2 separate regions of the Homo sapiens genome follow, and region 2 is linked to region 1. The links are contacts of gene promoters, found by promoter capture Hi-C in blood cells and fetal thymus (Javierre and others, 2016). All regions are on one chromosome and are shown on one strand. Each heading gives the region's core, a stretch centred on a gene start or on the middle of the fragment in contact. The rest is flanking DNA. Distances are from core to core; before and after follow the strand shown.

Region 1 (6,886 bases), core at 1,821-4,320:
TCAGATGGAGTCTCTCCCAGGCTGGAGTGGAGTAGCACAATCTCGGCTCACTGCAACCTCTGTTTCCTGGGTTCAAGCAATTTTCCTGCTTTAGCCTCCTGAGGAGCTGGGGTTACAGGCATGTGCCACCACGCCCGGCTAATTTTTGTATTTTTAGTGGTCTTGGGGTTTCATCATGTTGGCCAGGCTGGTCTTGAATTACTTCAAATGATCTGCCTGCCTCAGCCTCCCTAAGTGCTGGGATTACAGGCGTGAGCCCGTAATAGGCGTGCCTAACCAGTTTTCAGGTTTTTGACTTAAGCAACTAGATAAGTGTCACTCAATATCCAAAGGCATCGTCTATCTATTTCTCCCTTCCCCTCCTCCTTCATATCTAGTCAGACACTATATTAGTACGGGTTCTCCAGAGAAACAGAATCAATAGGATGTGTATATGCAGAAAGAGATTTATTTTAAGGAATTGGCTCACATTATTCTGGGAGCTGGCAAGTCTGAAATCTGCAGGGCAGACAAACAGCCTGGAGACCCAGGGAGATTTGACGCTGCAGTCTGGAGGCTGAATTGCTTCTTCTTAAGGGTCTCGTTTTAATTTGAACTGACCGGATGCGGCCCACCCTCATTATAGAGGGTAATGTACTTTAATCAAAGTCTGCTGATTTAAATGTTAATCACATCTAACAAATACAATTCATAGCAACAACTAGACTAGTGTTTGACCAAAAACTGAGTAACATGGGTAGCATCGCCTAGCCAAGTTGATAGATAAAATTAACCATTAAAGTCACTAAGTTCCATTGACAATGACCTTTAAATATTTCTCAAGTTGGTTTCTTCTTCTCCATTGCCATTGCCTTAATTTAGGCTTGTGTTCTCGTTTAATTAATTCATAAAATACTTACGTATTAGGCATTATGCCAAATGTTGGAGATACAATTGTGAGTAAGATTGTGTCCTTAGGGACTTACATTCCACCCTTTTCCTGACTTCTTTCTTGCCTCCTTCCAATCCACATTTTTTTTTTTTTTTGGTCTTGTCACTTTGATGCCCAGGCTGGAGTGTAGTGGCCAGAACGTGGCTCACTGCAGCCTCAACTGCCTCAGCTTCCTGAGTAGCTGGGACCACAGGACCACAGGTGCACACCACTATGCCTGGATATATATATTTTTTTGTAAAGATGGGGTCTCACCATGTTGGCCAGGTTGGTCTCGAACTCCTGGGCTCAAGCGATCCTCCCGCTTTGGCCTCCCACAGTGCCGGGATTACAGACGTTGAGCCACCGTGTCCGGCCCTGATCCACCTTTATAAATGGCTGTCTGTAGATCATGGCCTCTCACATTTTAACTGGGCTGTAGAATATGTATTGAAGGATCATCTTTATAAAATGTTTATTTGTAGACTCTGAAAAGATAACACCAGAAAGGGGGAACAATGGTTACCACTAGAAAGAACGGAGCGGAGCAGCTGATCGTTGTATCTACCTTTTTTGTTTTTTTTTTTTTTTTGAGACGGGTCTAACTGTCGCCCAGGCTGGAGAGCCGTGGCGCGATCTCGGCTCACTGTTGCAACCTCCGCCTCCCGGGTTCAAGCGATTCTCCTGCCTCAGCCTCCCTAGTAGTGGGGATTACAGGCGCCCGCCACCACGCCCAGGTGATTTTTGTATTTTTAGTAGAGGTGGGGTTTTACCATGTTGGCCAGGCTGGTCTCGAACTCCTGACAGCAAATGATCCGCCCATCTCGGCCTCCCAAAATGCTGGGATTACAGGCGTGAGCCACCGCGTCCTGCCCACGTATCTACCTTTTTATCACATGAATGTTGTACCAAGTTCGCGTATTACATATTTGAAAATAAATTGCGAAAATAACAAAAACAAAATCCATCTACTGGCTAGCTCTTTAAAATCCTGCGGGGGAGCCCAGTGGCCCAACGGCGAAGTTTAGCCCATCTTGCCCTTTCTGGTCAGTGTACCTGTTCCATTTATCTCTGACTGCGCCACTCAGTCAGGTGAGGGACCACTGGAGTTTTCTACCGGAAATGCACTTCAGCAAATGCCACTTGCTCTCTCCAACTTCAGTTTCAACCAGCGCCTACCTCAGGAAGCCTTCCTTCATCCTCCGGCCCCCGCCGCCGCTAAGGTTATCCTTTTACATTCAACCTCATAATGCTGCTTTTTGTGGCAGTCATCACAGTGTCGAAATTTGTTTACATGTCCATCTTTGCTACTTGATGGAGGGCAAAGATACACCTCATACCTAGCATAGACCCCAGGAGGTCCGAAATTGTTCTGCGAAAGAAAAAAAAATCAATGTGCTGGCCTCAAAGGGGCTCACAGGAAGGGAAAAGCCTCGAAGACTAAGGCTCTCTTCGATTCCTTCGTGACTAACTCGAGGCAAACATGCCAGGAACGCGGCTCTCCCCACCCGCTCCTGCATCTGCGCCCGGGGATCGCCGGATTCCAGAGGGGTCCCCTCCACCTAGCGCGCGACGACTCCCTCTGGGGTCCCGGAAGCCCGGCCACCGACCCCACAGGCGGGCGTGGCCTCAGAGCCCTCTTCTGAGCACGGCGTGGGTATCCGCAGGCGGCCATGGACGGTGATCACAGTGACCAGAGGGACAGCGCACCCTCCGGTCGAAGCGGGGTAGGCGTTGGCAGGGGAGGGGCGACGAAGACTGGCGAGGTTCAGGCGCCAGCCAAAGAACCACTCTGCTAACTTCCTGGCACTTACGTTTCCTACCCGGGGCCCAGAGTCGGGCGGCGGTCTTCCAGCACCACGAACTCCAGTACTGGTCTGCGTTGTAGGGAGCTGGAAGCCCGACCCAGCACTCCTCAGCCCCCTGTGCCCCTCCCTCTGCTCTTTCCGCCCCTCCCTCCGCCCCCCTCCGCCCCCCCCTCCGCCTCTCCCTCAGCCCCGCAGCGCCACCGACCGCGTTCCCCGCCCACTTCTTACCCGCGCGCGTCGCCGCCGCCGCCTGAGGGGGCGTGGCCTCGGCTCGGCGCACAGTCAGCCACGGTCCCATCCTGCTCCGCGCCGGTCAACGAGAGCAAACCCAGTGACTCACCTCCGCCGTGCTAACTCCTCGCTAGCTCTCCCTCTCACACACGCTCACACCCGGCTCGAGATGGCGGCGGCGGCGGCGGCGGCGGGGGACTCGGACTCCTGGGGTGAGGAGAAGTTGCTGGGGCAGGGCCCGGGCCGGCGCCGGCCCCACGCAGTGGCAGGCACTAACACGGCTCGCTTTCTTCCGTAGACGCCGACGCTTTCTCCGTGGAAGACCCAGTGCGGAAGGTGGGGGGCGGCGGCACTGCCGGCGGGGACCGCTGGGAAGGCGAGGACGAGGACGAGGACGTCAAGGTGGGTGCGGGCTAGGGCGCCGGGCAGCGCGGAAGCGGGCTGGCGCTGTTGCCGGCCGACTCTGGGCCCCGGGTCGCTGCCGGGGCCTGCGGGCCGTGGGTCCAGGCGCGAGCATAGGGCCTGGCGGTGCTCTCTTCCCCTCCGCTTGCCGGCCATGTGTGGGCCGAAGACTGGCAGCGTGGCCTCCCGGACTCCCTCGCCGGTTGAGAGTCTGCTCTCCGGCGTGGATCCCACCCGCCGGCTGGCGACGAAAGGTGACAGCATCGGCCGGGTCGGCCCACGTGCAAGCTTCGCGGTCCGGAGCCTCTCGCAGGAATGAGACCGGGAAGTTGGGAATTGAGCCTTGTAGCTTATCCATATGGAAAGCCTTGAGACTCGCCTGTCTTTTCGAGCTCAAGTCAGCCCAGGGCCAGTAACTCATTTATGACCCTGAGGTCTACTTATACAGTTTGTTCGAGGGATTAGATGAGTGAAATATTGTAGTTGAATTTCAACCTTTTTTTCCCACACGAGACAGCTAGAAACAGTAAAGGGAAATAACTTTTGGCTCTCCCTTCCCCCACCCTGTGGTAAAAAGAATGAACTGACCACTGAGATAGCCCGCAGTTAGTGGACAGAAACCCAGGTAGTTCACACCGTGACCTGAGAAATGGAGAGACGACAGTTACTCAACTACACACATACGACACCTAAGGAAATATTGAAGATTTGGTGGTGGTTGTAGATGACGGGCCCGTGGTTTTTTGTTGTTGTTGTTGTTTTGTCTGTGCCTTGTAGATAATCATTTTTACCTCAGTCGTTTGATTTTGAAAACTCCGAAGGGTTCATTATACAGCTGTAAGTGACATTTACTTCTACATGGTTTTTTTTTTTTTTTACAGTAGTTACAGAAGTCTCAAATCCAAAATGTTAAGACTCTTATTAACAAAGTTCTCAAAATCTTGTTATATTTGTGCAGATAAAGTTTTGTGTGAAATGGAAAATGATTTTTTTTTGTGGTTTTGCCTAATTTAGTGAATTTCTCCTAATTTATAAACACAAACGGAGAACCCTATAAATCCTGCCTGGGCTGAAAAGTTTAAGCTAGATAATCACTATGAACTTAATAGGAATGTTGTTTTGAGTTTTTCTGTTCTCTCCCCAGTCCGATGAGGTTGGATGTGTGGATGTCCGATTTACTGACAGCCTGAGGTTCAAGAATGTTGTGAGCTTTGCACACATTGAAGTTAATAAATCGACTGGTTATTGTTTGAAGACACTCAGATGCTTTATTTACATGTTGTAGAAACATGGGACTAGATTTTGTTACCAGCCGCATTACAAGATATTAGTTACCCCTCTACATTGTAGCAGATTTTCAGTTTTGAGCCTTGGGTTCATATTGGTCCTTTCATTTTTTTCCATGCATATAGGAAGTGGCAGTTAAGACATCTGTTATGAAATTTGGGAATAAATTAACAAATGCAGAGAAAAGATTAGAGATATTAGGAAAGAAGTTGCAGAAAATGAAGTTTTAATGGATAGTCTAGACTAATGTCATGGAATAACTTCCTTGGGATTAAGGGATCTAAATGGTATCGATCTTGATGAATATAATTCTTTTTTTTTTTTTTTTTGAGATGGAGTTTCGCTCTTGTTGCCCAGGCTGGAGTGCAATGGCGCGATCTTGGCTCACTGCAACCTCCACCTCCTGGGTTCAAGTGATTCTCCTGCTTCAGCCTCCCAAGTAGCTGGGATTACAGGCACGCACCACCACGCCTGGCTAATTTTGTATTTTTAGTAGAGACGGGGTTTCGCCATGTTGCCCAGGCTGGTCTTGAACTTCTGACCTCAGGTGATTCTCCTGCCTTAGCCTCCCAAAGTGCTGGAATTATAGGCGTGAGCTACCGTACCCAGCCTCTGATGAATATAATTCTGATCACTTGGAACAAGTTTTGGATATTTACAAGTTGTAAGGGACCACAAAGATTATCTTGTCCAGTTGCTCTTTTTTTTTTGGAAATGGAGTCTCGCTCTGTCACCCAGGCTGGAGTGCAGTGGCACAATCTCCGCTCACTGCAAGCTCCGCCTCCCAGGTTCACTCCATTCTCCTGCCTCAGCCTCCCGAGGACTACAGGTGCCCACCACCACGCCCGGCTAATTTTTTCTATTTTTAGTAGAGACGGGGTTTCACCGTGTTAGCCAGGATGGTCTCAATCTCCTGACCTTGTGATCTGCCCGCCTTGGCCTCCCAAAGTGCTGGGATTACAGGCGTGAGCCACCACACCCGGCCCCAGTTGCTGTTTTAGTGCTAAATTTCTTTTTCTTTTTTTTTTTTTTTTTTAACTTAAAGCAATCTATCTATTCATCTAATTTTTTGAGAGAAGGTCTCACCCCGTTTCCCAGGCTGGAGTGCAGTGGCACGATCTCTGCAACCTCCGCCTCCCGGATTCAAGTGATTCTCCAGCCTCAGCCTTTCTAGTAGCTGGGATTACAGGTGTGCACCGCCGTGCCCAGCTAATTTACATATTTTTTTCTTTTTTTTTTTTTTGAGATAGAGTCTTGCTCTGTCACCCAGGCTGGAGTGCCGTGGCACGATCTTGGCTCACTGCAACCTCCGCCTCCCAGGTTCAAGCAGTTCTCTGCCTCAGCCTCCCGAGTAGCTGGGATTACAAGCGCCCACCACCACACCCAGCTAATTTTTGTATTTTTAGTAGAGACGGGGTTTCACCATCTTGGCCAGGCCGGTCTTGAACTCCTGACTTCGTGATCCACCCGCCTCGGCCTCCCAAAGTGCTGGGATTACAGACGTGAGCCACCGCGCCTGGCTATATATATATATATATATATATATATATATATTTTTTTTTTTTTTTTGTAGATACAGGGTTTCGCCATGTTACCTAGGCTGGTCTCAAACTCCTGAGGTCAAAGTGATCTTCCCGCCTCGGCCTCCCAGAGTGCTGGGATTACAGATGTGAGCCACTGCACCTGACCTATTTATTTTGAGACGGATTTGTGAGACTGGCTAATTTTTGTGTTTTTGGTAGAGGTGGAGTTTCGCCAAGTTGCCCAGGCTGGTCTCAAACTCCTGAGGTTAAAGCGATCTTCCCGCCTTGGCCTCCCAGAGTGCTGAGATTACAGGTGTGAGCCACTGCACCTGGCCTATTTATTTTGAGACAGATTTGTGAGACTGGCTAATTTTTGTGTTTTTGGTAGAGATAGAGTTTCGCCAAGTTGCCCAGGCTGGTCTCGAACTCTTGGAGTCAAGTGATCTATCCTCCTCAGCCTCCTAAAATGCTGGGATTATGGGCGTGAGCCAGCAGACTCAGCCATATCACCAAATTTCTGAATTCTTATGTTTTTGTACTTTTTATGAGGAGTTGCAGACAAGGCTTAGTTTCCGTGAGGTCTTCTGTTCATGTCAGCATCTAGTACTTAACCTTTAAAAATACAGGTTTAATGTCATTTGTAATGTCCTGGGAAATGAAAGGAAAACTGATGTTTTTGTTATTATAATTTGCTCCAGCACTTTACTCTCATTTAGTAGACTTAG
Region 2 (6,886 bases), core at 2,990-5,489, 320 kb before region 1:
TCTGTCATACTAAACAGCCAGTTCATCTACTGGAAGGCTAACCTTAATAATTTAAGCAAAATTTTCAGAAGCCAAATACCTGCAGTAGATGTGGCATATGTTCTTCATAGATTTTAGCCATTCTATGTATAGAGACATAGACATATTTCTTAAGACAGCAATAATTGTAGGGCACTGAATCCCACTCAAATTAGTTCAAGTACAAGGGGATGATGTTTATTGAAAAGATACACACATAACTTATAAAACCAAAACTGTTAGGACAGTCAGGTTTCACAAGGGATTTGACGTGGAACTTGAAAGTCACAAACTGAAGATATTACTTTCATCTCCTCTAGGCTCCATAATGTCTTCTCTCCTTTCTTCGAAGATTGGCTTTCTCTGCTTCAACATCCCCTTGGTAGAAAATGGCAGTCAGCCCCAGCTCTTCATTATCTAACAGTTCCAGTGCCCAGTATAAACAAACCAAAGACTCTGCATCCCAATTCCAAATTCCCAGGAGAAAGAATGTAATTAACTTAAGTCAGGTGTCTACCTCTTATTCAATCAGCTGTGGGTAGACGAGCAACATCATACAGTCACTGTGTTGCTTTCTCCACATGAGGAATTGCGGTTAGCCAGCGTTCTAAAAAGGATTCACAATTGCCATTCTTTGAAACGAGAGATAAGGAGGTAATGCATATGTTAATTAGATCAATTGGGCCATTCCATAATATTTCAAAACACCATGTTGTATATAATAAATATATATATTTTTATATATAATTATATATATTTATTATGTACAATTTTATATATAATTTTGTTTTGTTTCTGAGATGGGGGTCTCTCTGTTGCCCAGGCTGACCTTGAACTTTTGGGCTCAAAGGATCCTCCCACCTCAGCCTCCCAAGTAGCTGCGACTAAAGGCATTTATCTCTACATTCGGCTTATACATAACATTTTTGTCAATTTAAAAAATTGAAAAGAAATTTTAAAAATTAGAGACAATGAATTGCAGATACTTAGCGTTTAAGCCCTTTAGGATCCACGTTTTGTCCATCTTCACATTTCAAATCCATTCTGGCCTCTACTAATAACTGCAACACTTGATTTTTTTTATTTCTGTATCTGCCCAAATCACCAACCAAGTGTTGACAAGATAGTTGTGAGCATTTGTCAATTTGTACAACTGATGCTGACTCTCCTTGTGGAGAATTTCCTGGAAATTTTATGTTTATGCTTCAAGAAATTTCACAAGTAATGCCTGCAAATATCTCCACCTTCCCTTGAGCTAGGTGCTCAGTGACCAAAATTAACATCAGGAAAGCCAATCCACATCTTTTAATTTTAACCTCCAAATAAATGAGACCAATGTAAATACCATCTGAGTGTGCAAATGTGTAAAGGAAAAAATCAAGGTGATACCCTTATTAATTAACACATTATAATTTCAACTTCCAACCTGAAAATGAGCCACTTCATTAAAATATAGCCATAACCAGAAGAGGTTGCAGTGAGCCGAGATTGTGCCATTGCACTCCAGCCTAGGTGACAAGAGCAAAACTCCATCTAAAAAAAAAAAATACATATATATATATATATATATATGGCCATACCATTGTCAATTCCAAGTCACATTTCAGGGAAGAATAAGTGGTGATCCATCTAATGACCAAATTCAGTCACGATAATCCCATGTCACTGCAATTTAGCCCAAGCCTCTTTCTATGCAAAGACAGAGAAAGTGCCCTCCTAATTGTTTTTAATTTTCTTTAATTTTTAACTTTTACACACTATATGAAAGTTCCCTTCTGGCATCTAGAGTTTCCTAGGAATAGGAGATAAAGATCTCATGCTGAGTGGCTTTTTTAACTCACTCAGTAAGAACTTAGAATTTTAGGAGCTGAGCTAGAGATGATTTCCAAATGCATCTGTGCAGAAAATGCTGATTATGGGTACTAGTCCAGGAATAACCACAGCCATTTTTTGGCCTTCTTGTGTTTTCCAAATGACTCATAAAGGACCTTCTGCATTCAAATAGTGTGTCATGAAATGGGAATGATAAAATACAGAAAGCGGACATTGCTGTCTCTTCTTGATGAATGCAGCTTTTTGTTACCTGGTATGAGGCCAGAATAGCCCGTCTAAAACAGGAGTGAGTTGTACTCCATGCCAGCCACTTCCTGTGCTCTGTGCTATTTCTCTGCTATTTGTGTGACTTCTCCCTGGGGGAAGCAATGCGGCTTTGTCTTTGAGAATGTCTGGTCCAGTGGTTCTTAACCCTGTCTGCAAATTAGAATTACCTGGGAACTGTTAAAAAAAAAAAAAAAAAAAAAAAAAAAATATATATATATATATATATATATATATATATATATATATATGTTAATTCTGCCAATTAAATTAGAATTTCTGGGAACTAGACTTGGATATCAGTGTTTTTAAAAAGCTCTCCAAAAGACTTAAATGTTCCACTAGAGCTGAGAACCCCCTAAATTAGATTTGATGAAGATAACCTGACCATTATAGACCAATGTTACTCAACCTTTATTTCATTATCACCTCTCAAGGAGCCTTTTTAGACTTTTTTCCTAATCATCCCCCCATAAATATTTAATATATAGTATATCTATTTGTGTACTATATATACAATAACATCTGTGTGTTTTGTTTTTGTTTTTTTTATTTGGGGGGCTCAAAAATCCTCCTGTCTCAGTCTCTCAAGTAGCTGGGATTGCAGGTGCAGGCCACTACACGTGGCTAATTGTCTTATTTGTTTGTTAAGGGATTAGGGCTCACTATGTTGCATGAGCCACCACACCCAGCACATCTGAGTTTTATAACATTTAAAAAAAAAAAAAAAGCCCGGGCACGGTGGCTCACGCCTGTAATCCCAGCACTTTGGGAGGCCAAGGTGGGTGGATCATTTGAGGTCAGGAGTTCGAGACCAGCCTGGCCAACATGGTGAAACCCCATCTCTACTAAAAATACAAAAAAAAAAAAAAAAAAAATCAGCTGACATGGTGGCGGGCACTTGTAATCCCAGCTTCTTGGGAGGCTGAGGCAGGAGAATTGCTTGAACCGAGGAGGTGGAGGTTGCAGTGAGCCAAGACCACGCCATTGCACTCCAGCCTGGGCAACAAGAACAAAACTCCGTCTCAAAAAAAAAAAAAGGCCAATTTTTGCCTTCCATGGGGTGAAACCTCTCCCATTGAGAATGTATGATGTAGGGTTGTGCTACAGTGACAAACAACCTTAAAAAAGCAAAAGCTTACATCTCATTCACACCACATGTGCATTGGAGGTCAGCAAAGTTGCTCTGCTCTCTCCATCATTATTTTCACTTTGGCACCCAGACTGCCAGAGCAACTTCTGTCTGGAATGTTATTGGTAACCATGGCAGAGGAAAAGCAGACCATGAAAAAGCATGCTCTGGCTCTTAAAACTTCTGCCAGAGGAACCCCCAGAGCTTCCACTCACATTTCAATGGCCAAAGCAACTCACATGGTGACATCTGAGCTCAACAGGACAGGTTATTGTGATCTTTCCACATGAAGAGGAACCAGGTATCAGTGAGCAGTCTACTAGAGCCGGCAGTCTCTCAGACATGTCCACTGTGATTAAGAGACATAAACACTCCCATTGGCCAGTAAGAGCTGATCTTCTGGTTATCGTGCACCTGGCTCCAGACCAAGGTAGGGCATAACATGGCACTGGCAATGCTATTTCCTTCTGATTTGTATGCCCATCTTTCACTTAAAATTGAGGTGGAATTAAGAGGACACAGTGGCTGGGTGTGGTGGCTCATGTCTGTAATCCCAGCACTTTGGGTGGCCGAGGCAGGCGGATCATGAGGTCAGGAGACCGAGACCATCCTGGATAACACGGTGAAACCCCGTCTCCACTAAAAATACAAAAACAAAATTAGCCGGGTGTGGTGGTTGGTGCCTATAGTCCCAGCTACTCAGGAGGCTGAGGCGGGAGAATGGCGTGAACCCGGGAGGCGGAGCTTTCAGTGAGCCGAGATCGCACCACTGCACTCCAGCCTGGGCAACAGAGCCAGACTCCGTCTCAAAAAAAAAGAAGAGAGAGAGAGAGAGAACACAGTTACGGTTCTTCTAACACTGTGACAACGAGCCCAGCACTTGCATTATTAACAAGAATGTTTTTAGTAGATTCTCCTAATTAGCTCTGGGATCACATCAGGTTTTCTTTATTGGCTTTTAACCGGGTTTCATATTTCCAGTCTGAGGTTTGGGAGTGCCCATTGACTAAATTATATAGCCTGTGCAAAATTTGTTTTAACTTCAAACCTAGAAAATGCAGGTCAACATCCTGGGTTTTTGTTGTTGTTTTTGTTTATCAATAAAAGTTCTGCCAGGACTATATAAGATGTCTAAGCCTTATGAAGGCAATAGCCAGGATTTTTCCCGTTACAAACCATGATCATTGGACATATTGCCAAGCACTGTAATCCAGAATGAAGTTTGGATACAGCACGGAAAAAAAAAGTGGAAATTCATAGTTGAAATCAGGCACATCATTTAGAAGTAGCCAGGGGTCACTAAAAGAAGTAATGCTGGCTGGTCGCAGTGGCTCACGCCTGTAATCCCAACACTTTGGGAGGCCAAGGCGGGCGGATCACGAGGTCAGGAGATCGAGACCATCCTGGCTAACACGGTGAAACCCCGTCTCTATTAAAAATACAAAAAAGTAGCCGGGCATGGTGGCAGGCGCCTGTTGTCCCAGCTACTCGGGAGGCTGAGGCAGGAGAATGGTGTGAACCAGGAAGGCAGAGCTTGCAGTGAGCTGAGATCCCGCCACTGCACTCCAGCCTGGGGGACAGAGCGAGACTCCATCTCAAAAAAAAAGAAATAATGCTTGTGGAAAGTAAAGATTTAACTTAAACTGATTGACATTATGACTCAAAGTATTTAGTATGGTATTTCTCTCCATTGTTGTAATTAGGTACAACAATTCCCATTAGTTACCAAAAGACTGTCTAAACTACAAAGTTGGTCTAAGAGCTCAGCAGCTTTTAGAAAGACTCTTGATTAGAAAAAAAAAAAAAAATGCTGGTTCTTGGTCCTGTGTTCTAGGCTCTATACCCATTACTTTGAAGGACCCCAAACAGTAGATCACATCACAATAGATCCATAATAATTAGAGACGTATCTTGCAAATTCCATAATGTGTTTCCCACATTCTTCTTTCTCTGTGGTTTGTCTGGGTTTACCTTGGGAACAAAGCTTCACTCTTAGTAACTGTCCCTCACACAAACCTTTTCTGTCATAGTCCATTCCTTGCCTCTGCTTCTGCCCCTGCCCCTATCCCTGCTGCAATGATCTCAAGGATTTGAGGAGACGAAGAGTTTTCCTTTCTACAATTCCATCACTTACTACTTTCTTCAGTTCTGTCCTCTCCTAGGTCATGGAGAAGCATATTATTGAATGTCACAGAGAAGGGTCATTCTCTCAGGATCCTAAAGATGTCACCAGTAACAAACGTTTTATTCCAGTAGATATGTGATCTCACATAGAAAGTCTAAAAAGCATTCTCCTCACCATATGTCGCTAGAATTTAATGACCAAAACAGGACCATCTGTGCTTTTTATCACCTGTTCCTGCTGGAAATCTACAAGGTTGGGAAACTCAAACATGATCTCCCCAACTCTTTTTGGGGAAGGGCACTATTGAAAGATCCAGGTCTTTTCTAGTAGCCTAGAGACTTCTGGAGCCATGAGGGATACTGTGGAAACCCTTGAATTGACTGGGTCCAGTTCATTGTAAAGAGAAAATTCTGTGCATGACACAATTGGATGCACGCTTTCTCAAAACTGACCCTAGCTGTTGCAGTTCCTCCATGGAGATAGGAAATTGATAGAAGTTTTCTGGGCGGCAACCCACTGCCCTGTGCTTCATTTGGTTCTCTCCGTCCCTAACCTATTTCCTACTGTTTATCCACACAGTTACAGCTCTATCTGGTGCAGTTCTTTGTTCACTTTTGGTTTTTCTCATGACGGGAATCTGGCTTTGACCTGGCATTTCAGTACCAGGGACTGATTCAGTCACTGGGAGAATGACTTGAATATTCATAGTCGACTCTGGCAGTCACTGTCTGGCCATGGGGAGATTGTTGAAGAGTAAGCAATACTGCCGCCTTGTGGAAGACAATAGTTATATTCTTTGTGGCAGAAATGGCAACAAAGAAAAGTAACCTCTGCTTTTTTTTTTTTTTTTTTCTTTTTTTTGGAGAGGCAGTCTCACTCTTGTCCACCAGGCTGGAGTGCAATGGCACTATCTCGACTCACTGCAACCTCTACCTCCCAGGTTCAAGCAATTCTCCTGCCTCAGCCTCCCGAGTAGCTGGGATTACAGGCAACTGCCACCACGCCCAGCTAATTTTTGTATTTTGGGTAGAGACGGGGTTTCACCATGTTGGCCAGGCTGGTCTCGAACTCGTGACCTCAGGTGATCCACCCGCGTCAGCCTCCCAAAGTGCTGGGATTACAGGCATGAGCCACCGCGCCTGGCCTTAACCTGTGCTTTTCTACTTTGTACTTTTTTGAATTGTTTGAATTTTGCCATTTGCATGAATGACTCTTATTTTAAAATAAATTTAGCCCGTTAGAAAATTAATTAAATTAAATTTCAAAAAGTGAAAAAAAATCTAGGATATTTTAATATATCCTAAAAAATATTCTATTGTTTAAGTCATTTAAAGTTTGCCCTGGCTCCACCTCTAACTATCTCTGTAAGTTTAACCATTTGAATTTTTTTCTTCATTAGTAAAATGTGGGAGGTGAATTTGATGACACTTAAATTACAATTAATGCTCTATATTGTCCCATTAAACTTTTCCCAACCTTCTTTTGTCAGGTATAGTAATCAATGTGTATGTGAC

The links. Contacts are between HindIII fragments. The CHiCAGO score rates a contact against its expected background, and 5 or more counts as called.
Region 2: a contact is called between a fragment that was not itself captured here and the fragment with the promoter of EIF3J in region 1, in 1 of 17 cell types (erythroblasts). The highest score is 5.0, in erythroblasts.

The regions. Positions count from the first base shown.
Region 1 is chr15:44,534,077-44,540,962 of GRCh38, forward strand. It overlaps EIF3J (eukaryotic translation initiation factor 3 subunit J), which reads left to right and starts at 3,071. Exons shown (of 8, transcript NM_003758.4): 1 at 3,071-3,161; 2 at 3,248-3,351. The coding sequence starts at 3,119. It overlaps EIF3J-DT (EIF3J divergent transcript), which reads right to left and starts at 2,847. Exons shown (of 2, transcript NR_034170.1): 1 at 1,967-2,847; 2 at 429-1,398. RefSeq lists enhancers at 1,739-2,526, 2,214-2,663 and silencers at 2,834-3,003, 3,194-3,503, 3,524-3,573. The HindIII fragment of the contact is 7,095 bases long and covers 1-3,637 here.
Region 2 is chr15:44,213,741-44,220,626 of GRCh38, forward strand. No RefSeq gene overlaps it. Among named protein-coding and RNA genes, the nearest start is that of FRMD5, 22 kb to the left of the region's middle. The HindIII fragment of the contact is 1,979 bases long and covers 3,251-5,229 here.